4 separate regions of the Homo sapiens genome follow, and regions 1, 3 and 4 are each linked to region 2. The links are contacts of gene promoters, found by promoter capture Hi-C in blood cells and fetal thymus (Javierre and others, 2016). All regions are on one chromosome and are shown on one strand. Each heading gives the region's core, a stretch centred on a gene start or on the middle of the fragment in contact. The rest is flanking DNA. Distances are from core to core; before and after follow the strand shown.

The links. The method cuts DNA at HindIII sites, captures the fragments that hold promoters and counts their contacts. A CHiCAGO score of 5 or more calls a contact.
Region 1: a contact is called between a fragment that was not itself captured here and the fragment with the promoter of LMBRD1 in region 2, in 2 of 17 cell types (total B cells and naive B cells). The highest score is 6.7, in total B cells.
Region 3: a contact is called between a fragment that was not itself captured here and the fragment with the promoter of LMBRD1 in region 2, in 2 of 17 cell types (naive B cells and total B cells). The highest score is 7.5, in naive B cells.
Region 4: a fragment that was not itself captured here is called in contact with the fragment with the promoter of LMBRD1 in region 2 in 2 of 17 cell types (total B cells and naive B cells); the score reaches 10.4 in total B cells.

The regions. Positions count from the first base shown.
Region 1 is chr6:69,965,041-69,972,058 of GRCh38, reverse strand. The region is part of intron 11 of COL19A1 (collagen type XIX alpha 1 chain); the gene reads right to left. Among named protein-coding and RNA genes, the nearest start is that of COL19A1, 100 kb to the right of the region's middle. The HindIII fragment of the contact is 2,171 bases long and covers 1,504-3,674 here.
Region 2 is chr6:69,795,454-69,802,405 of GRCh38, reverse strand. LMBRD1 (LMBR1 domain containing 1) reads left to right here and starts at 5,396. Exons shown (of 16, transcript NM_018368.4): 1 at 5,396-5,593. The coding sequence starts at 5,525. RefSeq lists enhancers at 5,475-5,704, 5,333-5,888, 6,015-6,064, 5,889-6,445. The HindIII fragment of the contact is 19,066 bases long and covers 1-6,952 here.
Region 3 is chr6:69,944,865-69,951,557 of GRCh38, reverse strand. The region is part of intron 9 of COL19A1 (collagen type XIX alpha 1 chain); the gene reads right to left. Among named protein-coding and RNA genes, the nearest start is that of COL19A1, 82 kb to the right of the region's middle. The HindIII fragment of the contact is 877 bases long and covers 3,609-4,485 here.
Region 4 is chr6:69,986,488-69,993,830 of GRCh38, reverse strand. The region is part of intron 11 of COL19A1 (collagen type XIX alpha 1 chain); the gene reads right to left. Among named protein-coding and RNA genes, the nearest start is that of COL19A1, 120 kb to the right of the region's middle. The HindIII fragment of the contact is 1,481 bases long and covers 4,360-5,840 here.

The DNA of each region.
Region 1 (7,018 bases), core at 1,340-3,839, 170 kb before region 2:
AATAGAAGCAGAAAAGGGGAATGTGGGAAGAGATGAGTTCTGAGAAGCACATCTACGTCCAACTTTGCAGGACCTTGTGGGATTCAGGATTTTAACCTAATGGGAAACAACTAAAATGTTTTTAAAATAGAAGCCACATGAATAGTTTTGTAAAGATGCATCTGACCATAATTTGGAAAATGAATGAGAAAGAGTGAGAACAGGGAGATTAACTAGGAGGTGACTAATGATTACGGTTTGGTGACACTGGGGTAGATGGAGAGAAATAGACAGATTTAAACTATAATTTGGAAGTAAAATTGACATTGGTCAGAAATTCCAGAATATTGTTAAATAATAGCAGTTACACCTTTGTCTTAGTCTTGATTTTAGTGGGAATTCCTTAAAAATGATGGCCTAAAGTCTGACATTTCTTAGGAAGTATAAAACGTTTGGAATTCTCTGTATTAGTGAACTAGTCCGTGTTTTTCTTTTGGGTCCTAACTTGTTCAAGAATATTTCCTGCCAAGGACCTTATGATGGCTTTGGATTTTGGAATAAAGTCTTCTTAAATGACTCACACCCTCTCCAGCTACTGTCCTATGGCTGTTGTCCTCTTCACAGCTAGTTCTCGTGAGGGTTTTTCTGCATGGCCTCTTTATCGGTCACCTGTAATTTAACTCTTCAGGAAACTCCAACCTGGCTTCTACTCTCTATTCCATCAAAATTATTTTGCTAAAGTCACCAGTGACACAAATAAGAAAACACATTTAACAGATGTTCTTAAATTTCTAACAACAAGGGAATGCTCACATAAAATATTACGTATTTATATAGTGAAATATTATGCAATCATTAAAATAATACTTTAAAAGACTAATGTTCATAAAATATTATAGCCCTTTATAGTTATTCTCCTCTTATTTCTCTCTCTTTCTCTCTCTCTCTGGACATTTTACTTTTTCTATAACTACTAGCAAGTGATGCAACAACAGAGGGTTAAACATATTTCACATAAATTAGAGTTATTCACGAGCACTGTAAGGAATTAGGAAAATAATACACAATCTGTAATGACTAGCATTAAGCCTCTGGCTTGGCTGTGGGATTACCATCACTCTTTCCCAATTGCCTGCTACCATGGATAATTGAAAGTTGGCATGGTTACTCCCATACCAATTATCATTGGCCACAGATAAATTGCTATGATTTTTAAAATCATAGTTATTATTTTGCTCCATCTGTTCTCTTTATTTTTTAAGTCAGCTGTCAAATCAAACAAGTAAGTCCTTCCTAAAAATTGTAGAAGTTTAGTTTACATGTTACTAGGGTAAAGGAAACAATTGTATAACACGCTGATGTTCAGTAGAACTCTGCAAGGTGAACCAAGACAGAATTCACGGGAAGTAAGGTAACATGTAGACAGTTGCTTTAGAGTGATGAAGGGAAAGTGCTATATTTATAATAGCAGTATTTAACATACTTGCATTAGTTTTAAATAATAGGCATAATCACCAAGAAGCTTTAATCATGAAATCCTAAAAAAAAATTTCAACTTTGACTTGTTTTTTCCATTTATTCTTGTATCAGTTTTAGTTTAGATAAAGTTAATAAGTACATTTTGCTATGTAAAAGTACAAAACCATTCCTTGGTTTAATTATTTGATATATTGTGTTTCTTTTTTCCCATTCTAATTAAGATTTTTAAAATAATATTTTCCTATTACATATAAAGTATTTCTACCATTTCAAATTCAAAATATGTTTTGACACAGTCTGCAAGTCCCACTATATAAACCTAACTTTAAGAATTATATTTTAGGCCATGGGAGAAGGAAAAAAATGAAGTAAAGTTGATAAATCTGTTTAATCTTTCTACTCTACTGTTAATTTAAAATAAAATTTTATATCATTTGTGTTAGATTTATTATAAAATGGCCCCTTTTTTCACCTCTCCATATATTTACACCCTAGGCAATGTGTCCGTGCAGCTTCTCTCATCAGGAGGTGGAATCTATTTTCCTACTCCTTGAATCTAGGCTGGGTTTGAGACTGGCTTTGGCCAGTAGAACATGGTGGTGATGGAGGTGGGGGCAAGCTAGTTCTGAGCAAGGAGGCTAAAGAGGCTTTATATGCTTCTGCTTCCTCTTTTTGGATCCCTGCCTTCACCTTGAGGACAAGTCCAGGATAACTGTTGGAAGATGAGAGATCATCTGGAGTGGAGACATGTTGTCTAGCAGAGGCCAAACTAGCCCAGCCACCCTCAGCCAACCTGGCAACTGAGAAGAGATACACACTCTTGCCCCAGAATCTGCTGGGGATTGGTTCCAGGATCCCTGCTGATAACAAAGTCCATGGATGCTCAAGTCCCTTATAAAAAAGGAAGTAGTATTTGCATATATCCTCCCATATACTTTAAATAATCTCTAGTTTACTTATAATACCTAACACAATGTAAATGCTATGTAAATAGTTGTTAGATTATATTGTTTTTTATTTGTATTATTTGTTATTGTTGTATTGTTATTTTTAATTTTTATTTCTCAATATTTATTTTTGATTCATGGTTGGGTGAATCCACAGATGCATAGTCCCTGGATGCACAACCTGCCGATAACACAGGCGAATTGTATGAATGAACGTAGATAAGATCAACTAAGACAAAAAAAAATCACTGAGCTAAGCCTAGTGTAAATTTCTAAACCATATAATCACAAGCTAAATAAATGAACGTTTTAAGTCACTACGTTTTGGGGTGATTTGTCACATATCAGTAGCTAACTACTATAGCCTCCTGTCTTTTATTTACTTATTCACAAGAAAAATTAGGAATTAATATTACACAAATAAAGATATATAATAATTCTGTCAAATAAATTTTTGTCAAAATATTAAGATTTTATATTACTTTTGTATATTGGCTGCTGAGGATATTAACATTTATTGAACATCTTTTATTCACCGGCACTCATTTAATTCCTGCAGTCATTCTGTGAGGTAGTAATTAACTTTATTTTATAAAAGAGGAAACTATGATAAAGAAAGCTAGGAACATATCCAAGTTCACACAGCTGCCATTACAGAGCTGGACTGGAACACAGAACACAAAAATATGTGAATCCATTTATTTTACGATATGTCACCATCACTTTCAAAATAAACATCAAGTCTAGGCTCTTTCAGGAGTGGTACTCCAGAAACTAAGAATGTTGATTCCTTGTTGAGTGATCTAGATGCTGCCCCAGAATGTCCTGAATAATCGTTTACGTATATTATATAAACATCCTTATTTGGGCTTTTTCTCACTCAATACCAAATTTTAAGTGGCCCAAAGTCACAACCACTCATTCAAATTCTCATGTCCTGCATGTAATTACCATAACAACTGAATGAGAAATTGACAAAAGTAAAAAGATTTTTCAGGGTAAAAATCCTCATTTATTTAAAGCCATAACTGTTGTTTCTAGTAGCAAATGATCACTATTGATTTTCTGAGTTACTATAATTTCATGACATTTAATGCTAGAAGTCAATATTTTAGAAAGTTGCTTGCAGGTGACATTATTTATTTGTGGTACTAGTATAAAAATAGTCTGATTATCTAATTTCTGCTGTTACAAGTTAAATATAAAAGTTAAATCTATCTATCTGAAATAAATGAACAAAATGCTACCAAATAAATTATCCAACAAGCTTATGAGCCTAGGACTATATGAGACATATCATAATTGCTGATATATTTTTAATGCTGAAAACAAAAAAGCAACAGAATAACAAGAATGAATTCACTGCTGCTATTTTTAATATTCATTTGATAAGAAAACAATATCAATGATTAACCTATGAAATAGATAAGTGAAGACATTTTCTATTAAGCATTTTCCATTCCCCCATCACATCTTCAAAAGTAACCACTGAAGGCAAAAGGTGGCATATAAAATTAGTGCTAATAAAATCAATACTAATACAATCAGCACCAAGCCTAAATATATTCTATTTTAGGCTGGCTTACAAAAATTTGAATTATGTCATCTGAAAATTAGCTGATGTTGACTGGTGATAAAAGAAATACAAATGTTTTGATGCATGACTTTATTATAAATAACCCCAGATAGTTTGTGGGTAGCAAAGTGTACTTTACGCTACGTGTACTTTACGCTACGTTATAGTAGACATTTAAATAATTGTATTCATTTGAATATTATATTTTGTACGGAATTTTATAACAATATAGAGTTCAATAAATCAACTAAGAATACGGGTCTGTGGAATGTTTTTCCAGTGGATTCTGTCTGGTAAAAAATATTTGCAACCACTATAAAACCAGAGTAATAAATATTTAAACACAGTTTTCTAATTTAAATACATATCTCATATGGCATTTTAGGACCTAGATTATATTTTGGTAAGAAGAAGACAATAAAAAAAATCACAAGTCACTGGAAATTTACAACTAGTTTTCCAACAATGGTTTTAAGAGATGAGTTAAAGCAGGGACCATATGAACTTGTTAGTTTTGTGTTTGCATTTATTGTTATTAGTATAACCCAGAATGGAAGAAAAGATCAGCAATAAAGATTATCAAAGTAGATAATGCCCAGAAGCCTAAACAAGAGAAAGCAAGAACTTGCTCAACCATGGACTCTCACAGCTGCAGAATATGCCACATGTTTGATGCTCTCCACCTCTCCTTCAGTCTTATGATTCACGAAGAAGTGCTCATTTGATTGTTTTTTTCTTTTTATCAAACTTAAGAGGCCCTCAAGAGACCAGAAAACTTTCATTTCCCAAATGGAAAATTTCCACACCAGCAGAAGCATCTTAGATCCAGGTAAGAATCTGCCACCATATATGCCCAAGTTAAACATCACTATTCAGTGAACCAAGTCGACTACATTTTAGGTAATAAATCAAGAAAAGTAAGGTATAAGTAGCAGTTGCCACTGGATGTTTCTCACAATCAAATGATATTTAGCAATAGGTTCTGCAGTTAAGTTTAACTTTGAGAAAATTAGTTCTCAAACTTCAAGTTAGAACTTGAGTGACAACATAAAATAATCATCATTTTAAAAGCAAACTAAATTACATGATTTGAAGCAATTACTTAAAAATATTGAATGGTATAATGAGGCAGATGTTTACATTTCATTGTCTATTTGCTGTTTCTTTTCATAAATGTAACCAAGTAATATTTCTACCTTCACAAGGACATAAAGTAAAAACTTGAGCTCAGGGTTAAGGAGTGAAGAGCACGTGAATGAATCCTTGCTAAATGGCCTTTTTCTTTTTTTTTTTTTTAATTTTTTTAGTATTTATTGATCATTCTTGGGTGTTTCTCAGAGAGGGGGATTTGGCGGGGTCATAGGACAATAGTGGAGGGAAGGTCAGCAGATAAACATGTGAACAAAGGTCTCTGGTTTTCCTAGGCAGAGGGCCCTGCTGCCTTCCACAGTGTTTGTGTCCCTGGGTACTTGAGATTAGGGAGTGGTGATGACTCTTAACGAGCATGCTGCCTTCAAGCATCTGTTTAACAAAGCACATCTTGCACCGCCCTTAATCCATTTAACCCTTAGTGGACACAGCACATGTTTCAGAGAGCACGGGGTTGGGGGTAAGGTTATAATTAACAGCATCCCAAGGCAGAAGAATTTTTCTTAGTACAGAACAAAATGGAGTCTCCTATGTCTACTTCTTTCTACACAGACACAGCAACAATCTGATCTCTCTTTCTTTTCCCCACATTTCCCCCTTTTCTATTTCACAAAACCGCCATCGTCATCATGGCCCGTTCTCAATGAGCTGTTGGGTACACCTCCCAGACGGGGTGGCGGCCGGGCAGAGGGGCTCCTCACTTCCCAGACGGGGCGGCCGGGCAGAGGTGCCCCCCACCTCCCGCACGGGGCAGCTGGCCGGGCGGGGGCTGCCCCCCACCTCCCGGACGGCTTCTAATGTAATGTAAGAGCTTAGTTCATGCATTTACATTTGGTTACATAACAAGAGTTTGATGAAATCATTGCTGGGAAGGCTGACAGATAGTATGGGGATAACTGTTATCTGAGGATTGAACTCCGTATTTTGTTTGTAGTAGCAGCCTGCACTATAATAATAGTACTGAAGGAATCTAAGGAAAATCCCCAGAAGACTACTCCTATATAGAGAGAGAAGCCAAAATACAACTCTCAGCTGTGGAGAGGGTCCTTCATCCCTCCTGCCTCATGAGCTATGCTGTTGGAGAGCCCAAGGATCCTTGGGTGATACACACCTAACTTTGCCAGCTAGGGATGGTGAAGTGGGATGGGGTCATTCCTATAGGTCTACATGATAAACCACAGCATGGTAAACCTGCAAATAGCTGTCATCTGAGAGAGTCATGTCAGCACCAACAACCTTTCTGAGAGAACTTACTACCCCTTAAAATAACTTTCACTTCAGGACTAATTTGGCTGAATTGTGTTTGTTCAGGAATGTATGAGGCTCTGCCCTGTTGTTACAAGTTTCTATAGATTCAGAAATATACTTTAAATGAGGTCCTTTATACTTGTTCTAGTGCCACAGGTTTTTCTCAGGACTAAGGAGAGAGTGTTCAACTCTTTGAGGAGCTACTTTGTCAGTCTAGTGAGTTCGGTTGGCCTGAAAGCTAGTTTTTTTTAGCCATAATGGGAAGAAGCAGATTACTCCAGTTGGTTTCCACTGCATTATAGAAATGTCACCTGAAAATATCAGGTAGTATTTTACCTTTTGCAGTTGATGTAATTTTTATATTTTGACCGTAACTATGTGTTTCTGGAAGATATGACATCTCTGACCAATAACAATGTCCTGAATTGTATTTTGCAACTGGTGACTTGTCACTCAAACAGTCAAATTAAACACAGTAAAGGCCACAGTAGGGTAATTAAAGAAGAAAGTGGGTTTTTAAAAAATGATTATATACTCAGTTTTCCACAAAAAATTAAAGTCCAAGGTAGATTGACTTTGTTCAGAAAATAAATTATGTTGTGAGTAATCCATGCTGTTGTCACACCAATGTGAATGTTTC
Region 2 (6,952 bases), core at 4,147-6,646:
CTCTTAATAAACCTCTTGGGGTTGACTAGCTTTTTTGACCATTTCTTTGAACTTAAAATGGAACAGAGTCCACAGAAATCCTGGTATCTTTCCATGAGTTGTTGGGTGAGGGGTTAAGTAAGTGCATTCTACAGTAACTACCGGCGAACAGGAAAGGGGTATTAGTTTTCTACATTCTCACTGAACACATCAGAATGTGCATACAAAAAGCCCCAGAAGCTCTTAAAGGGAAGTATTTTAGGGTAGGAAGGATTGTGTAAATTTATAAGAGTGATTTTTGTTTCTAAATTATTCAAATTGAAATATTTATAAATGAGCATGTATTCCCTTTGTAATTGTAAACAGCAAATAAAAATATTATTTTAAAAAAACTCTGGTCTGATTCAGAGGCTTCTTAGATTTAAAAACATCATTCAAGAGAATGTGTTCAGTCCTTGCTGATCTGATTTATATGTTAAATGACTAGACTTAAGAATAAAGAGAATGTTGATATGCATGCCTATACCTACCCCCCAAAATGACTTTTTCTTCTCACTCTACTCATCTTTCTGATTCAAATTACTATTCCTCTGTAACTAGTCACTCTTGTCAACAACACAGAAATATGAGGCTTTTCCGAACTGAAAGTCAAGCAACTGCCCAATACAACTTTGGCAGTCAGAGGCAGCAAAAGGGTTCGGCCAGTTTATTTAATGGACTTAATTCAATGGAGGGCACATCAGATGTTAAAAATATTTAGTCCAGATTCAGTAAAAGCTCCAATTTCACATATAATTTAAAGCAGTGGGGAAGATTTTTTATCATAATAATTTATGTGACCCAATATATCCCAAATATTATCATTTTAATATGTAATCAATATATAATTGTTAATGAAGTATATAGCTTTTGGCACTAAATCTTGGCAACTCTGTCTATATGTTAAGTTTTCAGCACATGTCAGTTCAGAGCAGCCTATTCCATGTGCTCAGCAGCCCCACGTGGCTAGTGGCTGCCACACTGAAGTGCAGCTCTGAGGGCTCTGACTCTCTTGATCTAAGGAAGGTGAAGGGCCTGAAACACTCTTTCCTGCCAGAAGTGAGGGAACAGCCTCTGCCTCCCAACAACTCTCCTCAGGCCCAAGGGTGAGAGATTTTTGCCCCTAGAAAGCAGGGTTTACAAGAAGAAAGTGTCCACAGTTACCACTGCTGCCCACCTGGCGTCCATCTTCCTTCCAGAGATCAGACAGTAAACAAAGGATGATAAGGCCCCTCAAAAAGGAAACTCAATGTCTTCAGATCTGTCTACATCCTTGATCTCCAAAGTTTAGGTATGGAGGAAATAGATTAAAGGTGAACTTCTTATTTTGCTATTTGCTATTTGGCCTTGGCCCTAATGGTCAGGCCATGGCTGTTTCCTCCTGTGGCATGGCGGACTGCGTAATTTAAGCACCAATCACATGCACACATCTACATGCATTTTGGTATAACTCACCACCATCTAACAAGAGATCCAACTTTAAATAAGGGGAAAATGAAATCTGTACCTGTCGGGTGCTTTCTGTTTGCAGGTAACTAGTAATCAACCTGTCATTGAATCCTGACATCCCATTCATACTGGGTACATATATTACTTAGCTATTGTATAACAAACCATGCAAGACTTCCTAGCTCATGATGGAGTTGCTCAGCCATTTGGGCAGGGCTCAACTGGGCCATTCTTGTGGGCTCAGGTGGGCTCCTTCAGGCATATGTGATCAGCTGCTGTTGACTAGGCGGCTCTGCTTCTGAGTGTGAGTTGGCTGTCAACTGGAGCAGTTTGGCTCTCCTCCCCATGGTATCTCATTCTCCAGCAGGCTAACATGGGCTTGCAGTCATGGAGATGGTAGGGTTCTCCAGAAATGGGACATTTCAGCAAATTTTGACTGTCCTCAAGATCCTTAGGGGAGTCTTTTTCCTTTCAGCTCCAGAACCCTCTCACTGGGTCCTGACTCTGGGCTCCCTTTCTTACCTCCAGGTGAGCAGGAGACCTGGATCCTGGTCCCCAGAAAAAACGGAGGCCCCAGGGCTTCCATGGAGGAGGGTCAGATTTTTATTTTTACTTGTCTGCATTCTAACTATGAATTCTCCCTTATATGCATAATTAAAAAGGGATTCAAGAATTTATTATATAACTCTTAGACCCCTCAGACAAATAAAATTTCTACAAATGTATTAGCAAGAGGAGAAGATTCATAAACAGATTTATTTAATGAGAACTGTTGCTGACCTGTGGAATTCCATCCTTAACTCCAAAGAGTGGTGTATTTGTGGGTGAGGTGGAGGGGTGGGTGGGTTGGAGTGGGGTGTTACCTTCTAACCCTTAGCCTAGTAAGGGAGGCCTCAAGGGAGCTACTTGGAGAATTTGAAATATGGCCCCTGAAATTGAGGACACAGAGGGCTAGTGTCTGACCCAGTAGAGAGAACTACAGTGGACTGTAGCATCAGGGGCTGACTTTCTTGGGTATAATCAAAAAGGGCTGATTCCTTTGATTGTAGAACTAGGAGAATGGAGCTACATTGGGATTGGCCTGTGCTCCCAAAGTTGTTGGTGCAAGGTATGTATCATCATTCCTACAGAGGGGATTTAGACTATTTGGGGAAAGGGGAAGAACTGGCTTGGGGTTGTCTTAGGCCTCTCCTCCAACTTAAATGAGCTTCTAGAAGAAGATTACAAGACCTCAGCAGGAAAAGGAATAATTAAGTATACCTCAGTATGCTCTGGGGCTTGTGGAGGAGATATAAGTGACTACCTGTCAGTGGCTCAAGTCCCTGCAAGTTTGTGTCTTTCCACAGTCAGACTTTTGTTGATGCTATTTCAATCATAAAAGCCATGAGCTGTATGAAGGTCCGAAGGAGGTAATTTTCCTTAGTAGTACCCATTCATTTGGTAGTCAGAACCAAGGACACAAAGCTCTAGCCACTCCACAAGTCAGTCAATATTGCAAACCAAACATAGTAGTATACATAACATATAAATATTATAGGCTAAACATTCTAAAAGAAAATAACATTTAACATCAAGAGAAAGGTTAGGAAAACAGGATTAACCAATCCAAGGAGAGCAACATGGACAAGGAGAGTGTCCTCGGCTGATCAGGATGCATATCAACATTTTGCAAGGAAGAGTCTTTGATTTGAGCAGAACCTTTGGTGGCAGATGCTAGATGCTGATCATGAGTGACAGTAAGACAGTGTCTGTTAAGATGGCTATCTTGAGCTGTTGAAGTTCTACTCTTTTTATAGCCTCAGAGTCCTCTGGTGTTGACTGATAGTAAAGAGTGTGCCTGCAATAGCAAATACTTGGAACCAACTGAAATGTCCATCAGTGATAGACTGGATTAAGAAAATGTGGCACATATACACCATGGAATACTATGCAGCCATAAAAAAGGATGAGTTCATGTTCTTTGTAGGGACATGGATGAAGCTGGAAAACATCATTCTCAGCAAACTATTGCAAGGACAGAAAACCAAACACCACATGTTCTCACTCATAGGTGGGAATTGAACAATGAGAACACTTGGACACAGGAAGGGGAACATCACACACTGGGCCCTGTTGTAGGGTGGGGGAAAGTGGGGAGGGATAGCATTAGGAGATATACCTGATGTAAGACTAGTTAATGGGTGCAGCACCTCAACATGGCACATGTATGCATATGTAACAAATCTGCACGTTGTGCACATGTACCCTAGAACTTAAAGTATAATAATAATAATAATAATAATAATAATAATAATAAAAGAGTGTGCCTGGTTATGTCGTTATCTGGTTGGGTGCAGTCTCTATTGATTAGGTGAACATCTGGTCCCTTTTGGCATGATTCCTTTTGAAATGTAAACAGAATCTTTTTCTAAGAAGTAGTTACTTATGTCAAGGGTGCTCTATACAATCTGGAATAGAGATATCAACCTGGAAGCGATACCTCTCTTCACTTTAAGGAAGCTATGACAGAGGTCTCCAGGGATATGAATTATTAGGAAGAAAGAGTGAAATTCAAACATTTGCAGGTCTAGAGGGCTTAAAGCCAGCTTATGATGGTACCAGTTCAAGTTAAAACTGTATTCTCCCCTATTCCCTTCTTATTCTGTCCAGGCAGGAAGGACCATCCTATTTTTTCCCTCAGGCTTCCAGCCGGAAGTAGATTATAGGTAGAGCATAACTCATCACCACATAATACATTGGAAAAAGATGATGGTATTTTTTCTCAGAGTTGTTTCTTGACTACATCACAGTGGTGAAACATGCACTCACACCCCTGTGGACTCAGGTAAGCCATCCCAAGAGTTTCCTCCCTGTGGACTCAGGTAAGCCATCCCAAGAGTTTCCTCCTTCTTCTTCATTGTGGGCCTATGGCAGTGTGTTTTGTTTGCTGATGCATATACCTTTACATACAAAGCTATCATGGAAATTCACAGGCATGCATACATCTGAATAGAAAGGCTATAACATCATGTGATAAGTTCATGTCCAGCCAACCAGTTATCCCGGCTGGGCACCAGTGCCAGTAAATTAGAGTGATTTGGGCAGCTAGTCAACTTTTATTCAGAGTCAGCTGTCTCATGCGTCCGTGTGAAGAGACCACCAAACAGGCTTTGTGTGAGCAACATGGCTGTTTATTTCACATGGGTGCAGGCGGGCTGAGTCCGAAAAGAGAGTCGGCAAAGGGTGGTGGGATTATCATTGGTTCTTACAGTTTTTCGGATAGGAGGTGGAGTGAAGAGCAATGTTTTGGGGGTAGGGGGTAGATCTCACAAAGTACATTCTCAAGGGTGGGGAGAATTACAAAGAAACTTCTTAAGGGTGGGGGAGATTATAAAGAACATTGATCAGTTAGGGTGGGGCAGAAACAAATCACAATGGTGGAATGTCATCAGCTAAGCTATTTTCACTTCTGTGGATCTTCAGTTGCTTCAGGCCAGCTGGATGTATACGTGAAGGTCACTGGGGATATGATGGCTTAGCTTGGGCTCAGAGGCCTGACATCAGCCATTCTTGCAACCTGGTAAGGAGTTCTGCTAATCACACACATTCCACCTTGTACACGAGGGCCAAACTTCCTTTTGGTGAAGAAGTATAAACCTCTAAAATTGACTTGGATCTCCAGGTCCACCTAGCCCATTCTTTGTGGAGTTCCCTTGCTGTTCTAGTCTATCAACTTAGGCTGAGTCAAATATCTCAATAGGTTGCCCAGCTATGAGCCAACACCCTGCTCTGCAGCCCTCCCACATCTCAGCTTGCAGGGAAGCCAGCGAGGGCAGCGTGGTGATGTCACTGCGTCCGCACGCGCCCCGCCCCTGAGCAGTCCTTGCTGCCCCGCCCCCGCTCGGCTCGCCGCCAGGGGACGCTAGTGGGTCCAGTCTCCTTGGCAACCACTTGCTCCTCCCCCTCCGCCCCTTTAACCTTTAGGGTGCGCGGGTGCAGTATATCTCGCGCTCTCTCCCCTTTCCCCCTCCCCTTTCCCCACCCCGGGCGCTCAGGTTGGTCTGGACCGGAAGCGAAGATGGCGACTTCTGGCGCGGCCTCGGCGGAGCTGGTGATCGGCTGGTGCATATTCGGCCTCTTACTACTGGTAGGGGAGGCGCTTGGAGTTTTCCCCATGTTTGGACTGGGGGAGGAAGGGAGGGGCAGGCCCTGCAGTTGGCCTCTCCGGGCCCCGGAGACCCTCTTCGCCCCGCCCCGCTTTTAGCTTGGACTGTGGAGGGCTCCTTAGTGTTGGGGGCTTGGGCGGGCGGCGGGGGCAGGGGGGTGTCGATTTCCGGTCTCTTTTGCTGTCATTTCACCGATGACGTCTAGGGTTGCAGGGTCCTTTTTGGAAGCTCTTGCCGTCATCGCTGACTTGGGCAATGGGGCCGGTGGGGTTTGGGGGCGGAAGAGACCCTCGGGGTTGAGAAGTATGTGGTGGCCTTTCGTCCCCTGTAAAACATTGTCACACGGTGTGGGGCGGCAGCGCTGGATCTTTGCAAGTTAAGTAGGCGCTGGCGTTGTTTACTTGTCACCTTCTCTGTATGTTTTTTCCCTCATTTTCCCTACCCTTGGGGCTAGTGAGTCTCCAACCTCTGTGCCCATTGTGTGATTCTGCCTTGATGACGTGAGTTGCTCGTTCTGACTTCCAGGTGTCACATTCTCTTCTAATCTTTTTTTGATTGGTGTAGATACCTGTGGAGGGCGGAGCTGTAGCCCTCTTTATTACCAGTATCGGAGTATATACTACTACCTGTCTGACCTCAGGTGCTTTCTTTTCCAACGATCTTATTTCTGCATATTCAGTGAGCAAAGTGTAGATAGAAATGTCTCAGAGTGGCCTGGCTATTACTTCCCTGTTCATATTAAAACCCTTTGGTTTATTTGGGAGTTCAATTTATTTCCTTTCATAACTTCTCTACCTTCTCAAATCTTCTCTTTTCTCATCGTCCGAGGCTGTAGTTACTTTCTGTTCTCACGTATTTTGACCTTTTTGCATTGCAAAACAAAAACCTCCAGTTCTGGAAATCAGGCTTGTTTGGTTTTACTTTAATTGTCAGATCCAGTTGGTGTCTGGTACCTATGTAGTATGTTCTAGTAGATTTTTGCAGTAGAGACTAAAAAAAGAAAATAAAAGAAAAGAATGGTGTGAAAATTTAAGAAAAGGATCCTCTTGTTACTGCCATCACTGTCACAGATAAAAACACTGCCTTTACCCTGGAACATGTTAGTCCTCTCTTGGAGGAAATGAAACCCTAAAGGTTGACTGTGGTCTCTGCAGCCACCCAGTCCTGTATTTGGAGAGCCCCCTGGCTTTTCCAGTCCATCAGATTTAGTTTGTTTAGAAAAAAATAAATAAGCATGTAATGTATGAAAGTTACGTGAGACTATCTTGGCAGTTATAAATTAATAAACATTTACGGTACAGAAGTGGTGTGAATTGTAAGAGGATGTAAACCAAACAAAA
Region 3 (6,693 bases), core at 2,798-5,297, 150 kb before region 2:
TGTGACTTTAACATTTTCCTGTAAATATATTTTCAATAACTAATATAAATTCCCCCAAGTGTTTGCTTCTTGGCCTTTTGGCTAAGATGAAGTGTATACATTCCTTCAAATAAGTTCTAATCTGGTCCCACAGTAAGGCTAGAATAATAGAATCATCAAACTGTTTATTGTTAAAATTATATCTGTTGTTTACCAAATATTTACATACCAGGTGCTGACACTTTTATGAATAATCTTATTTAATCCTTAAGATAAAGCTAGAAGTAGATGCAATATAATTCCTGTTTTATAAAAGAGAAAACTGACATTTAGAGAGACCAAGTGTCATGCTCTAAATTAGAGAGTAAGATTTTGAGCTGGAATTCAAACCCAGGCAGTCTAACTCTGAGTATTTAATATTAGCATAGTAAAGTAATGATGGCTATGATTTACTTCATACTTACTCCATGGGGAGCAAAATTAACTTAGTAAAAGTTTTCCTATTAAAATAAACATTTTAGGGCAAATTTAAAGTAATTTAGTAGATAGAATATGGGTTTTAGCATAAATTAGGCTCTATATTTGTTCAATTTTTACTATCACATTATTAGGATAAGATTATTGGACAATAATTATTCCTACTTAGAAAAAAATCCCCACTTCTAGAGAAATATATCTTTTATGTTTAAATACATAAGTGAAGTATGAAATGAGGCACTTTTTTGTTTGAAGTATTCAGGTAATGAAAACAAACATGATTTGAGTGTTATATTTGGGGGCAAAGTGGGCAAAATTTGCTCATAGTGTCCAAATCCTCATCTCATTTTCCTACTTCATACCATGAGGATGCAAGGTGTGAACATGTGTGTGTGTGTGTGTGTGTGTGTGTGTGTGTGTGTGTGTGGCTGCATTCATGTGATCTCATGCTTTGAGTCATTCACTTCTCTTGGAAATGGAACCATCCAGTTTACTTATTTTGATTGACAGAGCCTTCTGTCCATCCAAGCTTACCAGAAGTCGCCAGCTACCTAATAATACTGCTACACAGAACTGATTTTCTTAAATGAACTCATAACAGAACACTTACCGAATCTCTTAGGCAAAATCATAGCTGTTCTGAATAAATGTAAAGGGGACAGTTATTTTTATGCAATGTTTAACAGTAAGGCTTTATTAGATTAGAACTAATATTAGATTAAGAATGTCTACTGCAAGTCTGTACTGGGTGATAAGTATTACAATTACAAAAGAACATAACTAAATGCTATACTTCATCCTTATTAGAGTCCTCATGACTCCACATTCCATAAATACATTTTATAAAATTGTGTTGTTTAGTGTACTATTTTTATCCTTGGTGTCAGAGGAAAAATGCCACCACAGTATATTAATACATTGTTCAGAGTCTTGACTTAAAAGAATTTACTGCTATTACCTAGCTAAATTTCAAAGTGTAGGTTTATTTTAGAATAATGTGATTTATATGCAAATCACTTAATTTATTGAAGTATGACATTGATGTAAGTGTAAAGTATAGTTAATGTACAAATTAATACTTCATACTGCTCAGAATATGCTTCACTCCATTAATATAAATCAGTTTCCTAGCTTAAATGTTAACTTTAGAAAAAAATCTTCACTTTGAGAATATTAGACCTGAGATACATATTCTATGGTATTGTACATATGTTTTTGCTCCAAGTGAAACAGTTAAACAATTCAACCTAGTTATTTATTTTTTAACAGTACTCTTAAGTACTCCTGATTCTATGTAAAGCAAAGCAAAACAAAACAAAGAATTATAACTGCTGACAAGCAGAGTCAAAGTTAAGGGGATGCTGGATAAGTTACTCTGGAAGATGCACATATTTCACGTTGAAGCAAATGTGGGATACAAAGCCCTGAGGTGACACACATGTTAAGAACTGATAATTTTTCTCTGGAAATTTACTTAGAAAAATCTAACAAACCATTTTTCTTGTAAAATAACAGAAATATTTCACCCCAAACATAAACCTCATGAGGATGATTTTAAAATTTTGAAATTTAAAAAAAATTTTACAATTTATTAACCTACTGTTAGATAATACGCTAGTAACTTTCTTGTTTTCATTTTGTATACATTCTTTAGAATTATTTTCAATAAGTGGTAACCTGTGGATTATAGAAGCGAGAAAACACTATTGAGGCGGCATTTTTTCACTCAAGAGTGTCACACCCCTTTAACAGCTAAATGAAGTGACAAGTTAGAATCATAGCTGGCACCACCAGGGACTGAGTCCTTGGGAAGAGAAAGTGGTCAAAGACTCAGTGCTTCTATAGGTATTGGAAGGATATTAACCACTAAGTACGGTCTCTGATGATGTGTGAATCCGGGAACCAAGAGTTAAACGTAATCTGTTACCATATTTAGCACCACTGGAAGTTACATGAATTCTCTAACTGTCTGTGAGACCCTTTAAGAGTAACTCAAGTAAATTAGACCCAGAAGAAAACTGCTTGAGGAAACATGAAAGAGTATTTGCCAGGACAATTTTGCCATGGTTTTAGAACACCATAAAAACAGCTGCTTCTTTATGATATTAGCTTCTTAAGTTCTCTGGGAACAGTGTCTTCACACAGACACACTCATTAACTGATTTTGCAAGACTCTCTCAGTCACCATTTTGACCAAATGGGCACCAAGGGCTGAGGATTTTGGTTTTCAGAATGACTTCATCTAACTAGATTATCAGTATTTTCCTTTATATTCACTGAAGTTTTACTTTAAGTGAAATATAGGATGAATCACCACACAAGATTCTTTCTACAAAAGTGGACTTCTGGGAAAAGAAACAAAATTTTTAGTTCTGAGTAGTGCCTGTCTCTGAAATACTGACTTGCTCCAGTTCCTTCACGTTGCCCTAAATGCCCTCTCTTTTCTAAGAAACTCTCTCTTCTTCTAGAGAATTTCTTGGCTTGCATACTTAACTTTCTAGACTTGTTTTCTTACTATCATGGCCCTGGATGGCAATTCATTTGATCAGCTTTTGACAGGATTGATTCTACTGAATGCTTCATCTAGTCCTTATATTGTCAGTCTGTGGACATCACCTTTTCAGGAGTTGAGAACCTGTTCCACAACCAATAAGTAGCAGTTTGCACCTGGTTGTCATACATAAGGATCCAAGGGCTGTCATTTTGGAGTGTTAAAATTAATGCTATTTTATACCAACCTTGATAAATTCTGTTTTAAAGCATTCAAAGGGAATTCTATCCTGCTATGCCATAATTTATTGTGTAAATGTACGTAAGTCTCACGTTACATCCCACAATAAAGTCAAACAATCTATTTTATAGCTCAAGCGCTTCGGTGATTCTGCAAATGTTTTAAAAAAGATTCCCATGTTCAGAATAATTCAAAAACTCCTAATGATCTGAAATCTAAACAATCAGATTATTGTGATGCATTTTAGAAAAAGATTGGTAGAATAAGGGTACAAGGTAAATTTAGATTGGGGCATCTCTTTAGGTGATCAAGTAATATTCTCTAGAGAAAAGATATTTTTAAAGAATTAGAACTTTGAACAAGTATTTAAAGAAGCTTTTATTTATGATGAAGAATCGTCAATTAATGTCATCAGTAAGCTTATACAAGAAGATAGCAGCCCAAATAAACATCAACTTGCAGCAAGGTATTGTTTTTCAATAGAGTTTGTTGGACTTTACTGAGTTTAACAGTTACATTCCTATAGGAGTAAAGAATTTGCATATCAGACTGAATAATTTATGAAAGGAAAAAGTAGCATCAATGAAGCCATCAGATACCAGAGACACATTTATGAAGGTCTGAAAAAATATCTGTCTGAAAACCTCTGAACCTCCTACTGCTTCAGCTTCAGTTATTGCTGTGCTAACTTTAGGTGAATAAAACCACAATGGTCATGGCCTTCTAGATAATGACACAATGGACTCACTTGATAATCAGTGCAGCTAGAATGCCACAAAAACTTATACTAAGCATATTTTCATAAAGAAGAGAATTTTCTTAGCATCAACATATGAGAACTTTAAAAATTTAGCAAAGTTATTAATATTAATATAGGCATATATAGGGAAAAATACGACAAGGTGATTGCAGTTTAATATACAAATACAACAATTTTTTAAATATTCTACAAAAACTGAAGTTGAATAAGATGCTAAACTGCAACAGTAACTTCTCGTGAGTGAATTTATTGTTTGGAATCATCTTTGTGGTATTACAGGAAAAACATAAAAATCAATCATTTTATGAGCTATAGCCTACAGTATAGCATTTTATTGATACACTGAAATATATTTCTTATATTTTTAATTATAGTATGTCTTATAGTCTATATTATAAAATGTTTACATAAACTGCCTAATTTTTGTCTGCAGTGAAATACATATTAAGACACCATATTATATATAAAATGGTGAATTTGAGAAGCCCTGGGGCTAAAAGAATAGCAGCCAATGTTCCGGAGCAGGGATCAGCAAGCTTTTTCAACAAAGGGCCAGAGAGTAAATATTTTAGATTTTGTGGGCCATACAGTCTCTGCCACAATTACTTAACTTGGCCATGAAGCACAAAGGCAGCCTTAGGTAATACAAAAACAAATGAGTGTGGCTGTGTTCCAGTAAAACTTTATGTACAAAATCCTACAGTGAGAGTTTCTGGCAGCCCTACTATAGGGCCACAGTTTGATTACCTCTAAACTATAGGACTTGTTCTGTATATTTTCCTATCCTATCTGATACAGCTTTATAAAATAACCATAAATTTTGATCAAAGAGTAAACCATCATATCTTTTCCCCAGGAATTCCAGGAGCACCAAATTCACCTTTATTACCAACTGCACCCTAAAATACAGAAATGCTTATTAGGAGATTACTTTTAAGGGGTGCGTTAATTACTAATGTTGTCAAAGTGAATCTACCTCTTCCTAGATGAGTTGCTTTTGCTTGCACCAAAGTTTGTGCTTCAAGTTCCTTCCTCATATTGCCCACAAGCCAAAATAATAAATTGTAAAAAATCAGTAATTCGTAAATATCTAAGTGCTAATCATAACTAAAACTAGACATATTCACACAGAAATATGTAATTCAGCTTTGTAATTTACCAAATTTTGAGTAGTCTAATATGCTAATCCAGATATGATGGGTAAGTTTCCCCTCATTTTCTTTCCAATCTGACATTACTCATATGCCCATTCTGTAGCCATACCACAACAATAAAAATTAGTTAAACCAAAATATGTTCATAATTTTTAAAAATAAGGATACATTCTCTTAGTAATAACCTCACAGAAGTAGGATTTAATATTTACCAAAAGTACATTTACCAAATGTAAGGAATAATACTATTGCTGTTACTTCAATTAATATGATAAATGAGTTTAAATGAGTTAAAAGCTACATCCTATCCGATGCTTTCAATTCAAGTAGGTCAGGAAATTTCAGATTCTAAGATATTCCTATTTGTTTCATTTAGTATGCCTGACTTTCCTTTACATCCTCCAGGAAAAACCCCAAAGCTGGGTCAATCCAATGATCAGCTTCCTTGCTCTTCTGTCTAACTGCCAAGCAGGGATGGAAAAACAGGTGCAAGGAAGTCTATGGATCATCTATGGCTTCCTTAAAAGCACTATCACAAATTCAGTCTAATAAATTTATCCTCGAAACAGTGGAAAATAATATACACTTTTTGAATGAGTTTCTCTGTCACTAACACTTGGTAGAAATTAAGAAATATATTGTAATTTTATGAATATGTAATACCATTATTATAATGATACTATCTGTTAATTTCAGATGAAGACCCACAAGTAAATTTCACCTTCAAGTGAATTCCTGTAGATTACATGAGATTATATCAAATTGGGTAAAACTGATCCAAAAAAAGGACTTGTCAATTACTTCAATATATTCAATATGGGATTAGAAAGGATAAAGAAACATTATTATTTCTTATATTGACATATTAAAAGAAGTCAAAAGAATAATATTAAATCCTACTTCTGTAAAGTTATTACTAAGAGAAGGTATCCTTATTTTTAAAAATTATGAACGTATTTTGGTTTAATTAATTTTTATTGTTGTGGTATGGTTACAGAATGGGCATATGAGTAATGTCAGATTGGAAAGAAAATGAGGGGAAACTTACTCATCATCTCTGGGTTAGCATATTAGACTACTCAAAATGAAAACCTCTATAGTGGGATTGGAGGGCAGGAGAAGTTGAAATAAATCAATACCAGTTTCTGACTAAGAAGTCAAATAAGCTAACTTATTCCATTTTAAACAGTTTTGATTTTCTGTCAAAGCATATCAGCAAAGCAATCATTTCATAAAGTCAACACATTTTGGCAAATTAACTGGAGATATGGAAGATAATAATAGAAAAATAAACTGGAAAATTATTCCCAAAATGGAGCTCAGATAACACTTCCCCTCAGGTTCAAGAACATTAAAATTGAGCTAATATTTTATAAAACTCTGAGAGAATTTCAGCTCTGAAATGGGTGAGGGTATTAACAAGGGTCTTAAAGAACTGAGAAAGTAATGCAGTTGCTAAGGAATTAGGTTGCTAACTACATTTGCTAACAAAAGGGAATTAAAAAATTCAGAAAATTATTACAATTGAGTCTAAATGAAAGAAAAGTATTAATTATTACTTCAAATAATGTTATACAGAGTTTAGTGTTAAA
Region 4 (7,343 bases), core at 3,851-6,350, 190 kb before region 2:
AATAAACAATCAGAAATGACAAAAGGGACGTAACCACTGACTCCACAGAAATACAAAAATCCCTCAGAGACTACTATAAACACCTCTAGGCACACAAACTAGAAAATCTAGAAGAAATAGGTAAACTCCTAGAAACAGACAACCTCCCAAGATTGAACCAGAAAGAAATTGAAACCCTGAACAGACCAATAATGAGTTCTGAAATGGAATCAGTAATGAAAAGCTTACCAACTAGTAAAAGCCCTGGGCCAGGTAGATCCACAGCCAATTCTACTAGACAAATAAAGAAGAGTTGGTACCAATCCTACTGAAACTACTTCAAAAAACTAAGGTGGAGGGACCCCTCCCTAACTCATCCTATGAGGCCAGCATCATCCTGATACCAAAACCTGGCATAGATACAATTTAAAAAGAAAATTTCAAGTCAATATCCTTGAAGAACATAGACACAAAAATTCTCAACAAAATATTAGCAAACCAAATCCAACAGCACATCAAAAAGCTAATCATCCATGATCAAGTAGGCTTTATTCCTGGGAAGCAAGATTGGTTCAACCTATGCAAATCACTAAATGTGATTCATCACATAAACAGGACTAAGCACAAAAACCACATGATCATCTTAATAGATGAAGGAAAGGCTTATAATAAAATTAAACTTCCCTTCATGTTTAAAATCCTCAACAAACTAGGCATTTAAGGAACATACCTCAAAATAATAAGAGTCATCTATGACAAAAACCCACAGCCAACATTATACCGAATGGGCAAAAGCTGGAAGCATTCTCCTTGAGAACTGGAACAAGACAAGGATGGCCTCTCTCATCGCTCCCATTCAACGCAGTATTGGAAGTCCTAGCCAGAGCAATCAGGCAAGAGAAAGAAATAAAATACATCCAAATAGAAAGAGAAGAAGTCAAACTAGCTCTCACCACAGAAGATATGATTTTTTACCTAGAAAACCCCATAATCTCTGCCCAAATGCTCCTAGATCTCAGAAACAACTTCAGTAAAGTTTCAGGATACAAAATCAATGTACAAAAATCAGTAGCATTCCCATAGATCAACAATGTCCAAGCTGAGAGCCAAATCGAGAACACTGTCCCTTTCAGAGTAGCAACAAAAAGAATAAAATACCTGGGAATAGGGCCAACCAGGGAAGTGAAAGATCTCTACAATGAGAATTACCAAACACTACTGAAAGAAATTAGAGATGACACAGACAAATGGAAAAACATTCCACGCTCATGAATAGAAAAAATCAATATTGTTAAAATAGCCATATTACCCAAAGCAATTTATAGATTCAATGCTATTTCTATCAAACTACTAACAACATTTTTTTTTCTTTTTTTAAATTTTACTTTAAGTTCTTGTATACAAGTGCAAAATGAAACTACTAACAACATTTTTCACAGAATTAGAGAAAAACATTCTAAAATTCATATGGAACCAAAAAAGAGCCTTGGTAGCCAAAGCAATCCTAGGCAAAAAGAACAAAGTTGGAGGCATCACACTTCCTGACTTCAAACTATACTACAAGTTCAGTATGGCACTGGTACAAAAACAAGCACATAGACCAACGGAACAGGTTAGAGAACCCAGAAATAAAGATGCATACCTACAACCATCTGATTTTCGACAAGGCTTACGAAAACAAGCAATGGGGAAAGGACTCATTCAATAAATGATGCTGGCATAACTGGCTAGCCATATGCAGAAGATTGAAACTGGACCCTTTCCTTTCACCATATATAAAAATCAACTTAAGATGAATTAAAGACTTAAATATAAAACCTAAAACTGTAAAAACCCTGGAAGATAACCTAGAAAATACCATTCTAGACATCAGCCCTGGCAAAGATTTCATGATGAAGATGACAAAAGCAATTGTAATGAAAACAGAAATTGACAAATATGATCTAATTAAACTAAACAGCCTCTGCACAGCAAAAAACAAACAAAAAATACTATTCACAGAGTAAACAGACAACATACAGAATGGGAGAAAATATTTGTAAACTATGCAGCTGACAAAAGTCTAAGACCCGGAATCTATAAGAAAGTTAAACAAGTGGACAAGTAAATACCAAATAACCCCATTAAAAAATGGGCAAAAGACGTGAACAGGACACTTCTTAAAAGAATACATACATGAGGCCAACAAGCATATTAAAAAATGCTCAACACCACTCATCATCAGAGAGATGTAAATCAAAACCATAATAAGAAACCATCTCACACCAATCAGGATGGCTATTATTAAAATGTCAAAAAATAACAGATGTTGGCAAGGTTGCAGATAAAAGGAAATGTTTATACACTGCTGGTAAGAATGTAAACTATTTCAGCCACTGTGAAAAGCAGTTTGGAGATTTCTCAGAGAACACAAACTACCATTAGACCCAGCAATCTCATTACTGGGTATATACTTAAAGGAATATAAATTATTCTATCATAAAGACACATGCATGCATATATTCATCACAGCAGTATTCACAATAGCAAAGACATGGAATCAACCTAACTGCCCATCCAAGTGGACTGGATAAAGAAAATGAGCTACATACACACCATGGAATACTACACAGTTATAAAAAAGAATGAGATCATGCCCTTTGCAGCAACATGGATGGAGCTAGAGTCCATTATCCTAAGTGAATTAACATAGGAACATAAAACCAAATACTGCACATTCTCACTTATTAGTGGGAGCCAAACACTGAGTACACATAGACCCAAAAAAGGGAATAACAGACACCAAGGTCTACTTGAGGATAGAGAGTGGGAGGAGGATCAGAATAACAAAACTATCTATCAGGTATTAGGCTGATTACCTGGGTCACAAAATAATCTGTACACCAAACCCCTGTGACACACAATTTACTCATGTAACAAACCTGCCATGTACCCCCCAAACCTAAAATAGAAGTCAGAAAAAGGAAGAAAAAGTTAAAATTGAATAAATCCTTTTAAGAAATCACCATTTTGTGACCCTGAATGAATTAATTGGCCTAGATATTGATGATCAATGGCTGCAATCATCACAAAAAGAAAGATTTTCAGACATTATGTGGCTCTTGGCACACACCACCATACAATTTATGAAGTAGTCTTGCTAAAAACATCACACCTAAACTGATCTAACCACCCTTTAAAGGAAACACAGAGGAGAGAGGAACATATTAAAGTACACCATGAAACTGCAGTTGGCAAATCCAGGCTATGGAAGATTCTTCAGGACAAACAACCCCGATTCTTTAACAAATAATGTAATAAAACAAACAAAATGACAGAGAGGGGGAGGAAAATTATAGATCAAGAGACCATCAAAAGCACAGCAACCAACTAGAATGTGCCTATCTTATTTGGATCCTGACTACAGCAAATTGTTAACGAAAATTATGATTTTATGATACTATTGGAAATTTGAACACCAAATGACTACTTAATGATATTAAAAAGTTATGTTTAAAAATTTTAAGTGTTATAATGAAATAATGATTATGTAAAAACAAAAGCCTTATCATTTACAGATACAGACTGAACTGTTAATAGCTGAAACATATGCTGACTGGGATTGCCTCAAAATAATACAAGATGGAGTCTAAGTGAAACAAGATTGGCTGTGAATTGAAGACAGCTGAAGTATATACAGGTGTTCAATATTTTATTCTGCACACTTTTGTGTTTATTTGAAATTGTCCATACTAACAATTTTTTATTATGCCTAGGACCAGAGTCTTTATAAGTGGGTACTTCACATGCTCACAAATAAAGAGATACATCATTTGTACACATTCATTATTAAGCTTTTTGATATGCAATGAGAATTTTCTTAACAAGATAAAGCTCTAGAAATGAAGGCAAAAATTACTCATTCACAATTGAAGTCTAGCATTTATATAAGATCTTATAGACATGAAACATTAGTCTAAGAGCTTTAACTCATTTACCTCATCATAGCACTAGGGATTAGGTACTACTACTCTGCTTTAGAGATGAGGAAACTAAAGTAGAGGAAGGTAAAGTATTTTGACATAGTAAAGTGGGAGAGCCAGGGTTTGAACCTAGACCATTCTGTTCTAGAAATTGGCTCTTAAATTTTAGTCTAATTCTGTGGCTATTGAGCAAGTTTCCATGTTTTAGGTAGGATCTAGATCAGTGGTGTCCAATCTTTTGCCTTCCCTGGGCCACATTGGAAGAAGAATTATCTTGGGCCACACATAAAATACACTAACACTAACAATAGCTGATGAGCAAAAAAAAAAAAAAAAGTAAAAAACTCTCATTATGTTAGTTTACGAATTTGTGTTGAGTCACATTCAAAGCTGTTCTAGGCCGTGGTTGGGACAAGCTTGATCTACATCAAAAGAAATAGAGGGACGTTATTCTAGAACAAGGGAAAAGTAAAAGAAAAGGCACAAATATATGGATTAGCAAGTTACTTGCTTTAGGTAAAGCACAGGATTCCGAAAAAGGAAAATTCTATGAAACTAAATTGGAAAGGCAGGCAGAATCAGGTTGTAGAAACCACGAAGGGCAAGTTAGGGATGTCTGGACATGCTCTTTTAGCCATTGAGGAGGCACTGACTCTTTTTGAGTAGAACCCCGGCATTGTACTTTTTGGAGAGTAATGGAGCTAGTTATGTAGGAAAAAATTAGTGGGTAAAAAACTTAGCGGTATGTAATTTACTTAGAAACCTATTCCAACAATCTAGGCAAAGGCAAGGAAAGCCAGAACTTAGGGAAATGCCATGGGGCTGAAAAAGAAGGGCGGCTATGAGAAATGAGATGTGACAGGAAAAGAGGGGAGAAGCAAGAGTTCATAAAAATTACAGGTTTCAGACCTGTGCAAAGCCCAGAAGGATGGTGATGTTATCAGCACAAATAGAAAAGAGCAAATGCAGGAAGAAAAGCAGATGTGAAAGGAAAGCAGAAGGGTTTTGTTTTGAACATGCTGAACCAAAGGAATAAATGGGACATCCAGGAGGAGATGTCTAACAGGTAGTTGGGTAAAGTAGACCAGACTCCAGGAAAGATATCAGGTTTAGGTTATAGATTTAGGAACCATCCTCTTGAGAGATGATGATTGAACTGATAAGACAAGTTGAGACTGCTGAGGGAGGAGGGGAAGAGGTTTGTTTTGAATCTCCAACGGTATTATCAGTCTCTTAACACGTGGGTGTTGTTTTCTAGTTCCTTTTTATTCCACCAGAGCATCTAGCACAGAACTCAGTAAACTTTCTTGTCTGATACATGGAAAGGTATAAGAGGTGCTAGAAGTCTTTTCATAAGCAGTAGTGATTTCCCAAATGATTCCGGTATAGCATTTATTTATCAGTAGCAACGATCATTTGTTTTATTAATTTCTCATCTGGGAACTAATAAGGAAAAGCCAACTATTAAAAGCCCACATATGGTGGAGGGCAGAAGACCCTTTTCAGATACTTCATGCAAAATCCTAAGCACTAAGCACACTAAGTAATGCTTATCTTTTGGCCTATATTACTTTAATAATGGTGGTGCTGTAATTCACTATGGAATTTATAGTCAAATCTAGTGAATATGAGGAGTACAGGAAATGACATGTAACCTTTTCACTGCCTTTGGTGTAGTAAACCACTGATGAGGCTGCAGTTAGAGAATGAACATATAAGAATGGGGAAAGAAAATGGTAATAATGCTGCACTTTTGCATATTTAAGTCATTTCGAATCTGGTGTTTAAAACTTCTTTAAAAAACAAAATAAAGATCTGTTTCTTACAGCAGGGTCAATAGTGAACCATTTTTGAGTCTTTTCCAGAACCTGTATGAGTCAGAGTATTTGGTTTAAAGCTTTAAGGGTCCAAATAATTATCTTTCTTACATGCTGTACTCAGTTTATTCCTCCCATGTCAGAACTAGATGTTCATACTTAATTCTAAACTTTTCACATTTCCCTTTTACTGTAACCCTGGGTTGAGAAAGCCCACTACTTGAGTAAATTTTCTAGGCAATTTTCTGGTATTAAGAACTCCATTCCATTAGGGGCTCTCTCCAGGAGAAGGAAGAATGTTAGGAGGCTCCCAAGTAAGCATGGCAGGGAATCCTTACCAACAATCAAGAACCAACCCCACAAGGCAGTTAAGCACAGCTGGGAGGTATTTTGTTAGATTCAAGTCCTAGAAGCCAGTGAAAGAAAGAGCTGTGATACAAACGGTGGTGCTTATGTCTTTCACATTTGGAAAATTTCACAAGCACATAAGGACCTCTAGCCGATTCTATATGTTAAAAACACAGTGTTGTTTGTGAAACCAAGCAATCGTTTTAAGGACTTTCAAGTCTCTAGTGTGAGATTTGTTTCAAATTTATTTCAGCTATCAGAGTTGATCCTTCTCAGTAGCCAATGATGAATTTTCCTTCAGTATAGCCGTATGTCTGGGTCAAGAATAAGTCTAATTTTCACTGAGTCAAGAGGATAATGTTTGCACTTGTAAAATGAGAAAACAGGAAAAACAAATTTAGACATAGAGTTATTAGTAAATAATAAAATTCCATTTTTTATAATTCCACTTTGAGGAAGACTGTAGGATAAATGAACATGACAGAAGGATTTTATTTTGCTGTGTTTTGTTTTGTGTTGGTGTAGCTAGTGATGTGCTGCAGATAAGAGTCAGTTATCATTGCTGAATATCCATAGGCCTTGAGTGGACACCTTTGGGATGATGCCTCTTGATTTTGAACAACAACAAAAAAAGATTTTTAAGGAATATCAAAAGTCATGCCTGTAGTCCCAGCTACTCGGGAGGCTGAGGTGGGAGGATCTCTTGAGCCCAAGAGGTCAAGGCTGCAGTGAGCTGTGTTTTCTCTGCTGCACTCCAGCCCGGGTGACAGAGTGAGACTGTCTCAAACAACACAACACAACACAACACAAAATGAAACAAAATACAAAAAGTATCCAAAATCTTAGAAATAGAATTTCTAATGGGCAATTGCACTCAAATATCTTATTAATGCATTTTCCAATTGCAGCTACAAAGTTAGAGCTCCATGTCTCAGTCTTAGAGCCAGAAAGCTCAGTGGCTTTCTAAATAAGACCAAGTTGGGCACTGGAGACCAGAACTGGTTTCAAAATAAGCATTACTTGAAGAAAGTTTAAGGAATTGTAGTATAAACTCTGCGGTCAAAGTATATATGCCCAGAAGTTCGTTCTAGATAGGGCTTCACATATTTAGTACATTATGTGTATAGGTTTGCACATTAAAATAACTGCTCTCAAACTTTAGTTGTTATGCAACCATCTCTAAGAGAGTTTATTAAAATGCAAATTCCCAAGGCACATGCCTAGACTTCTGATCCAG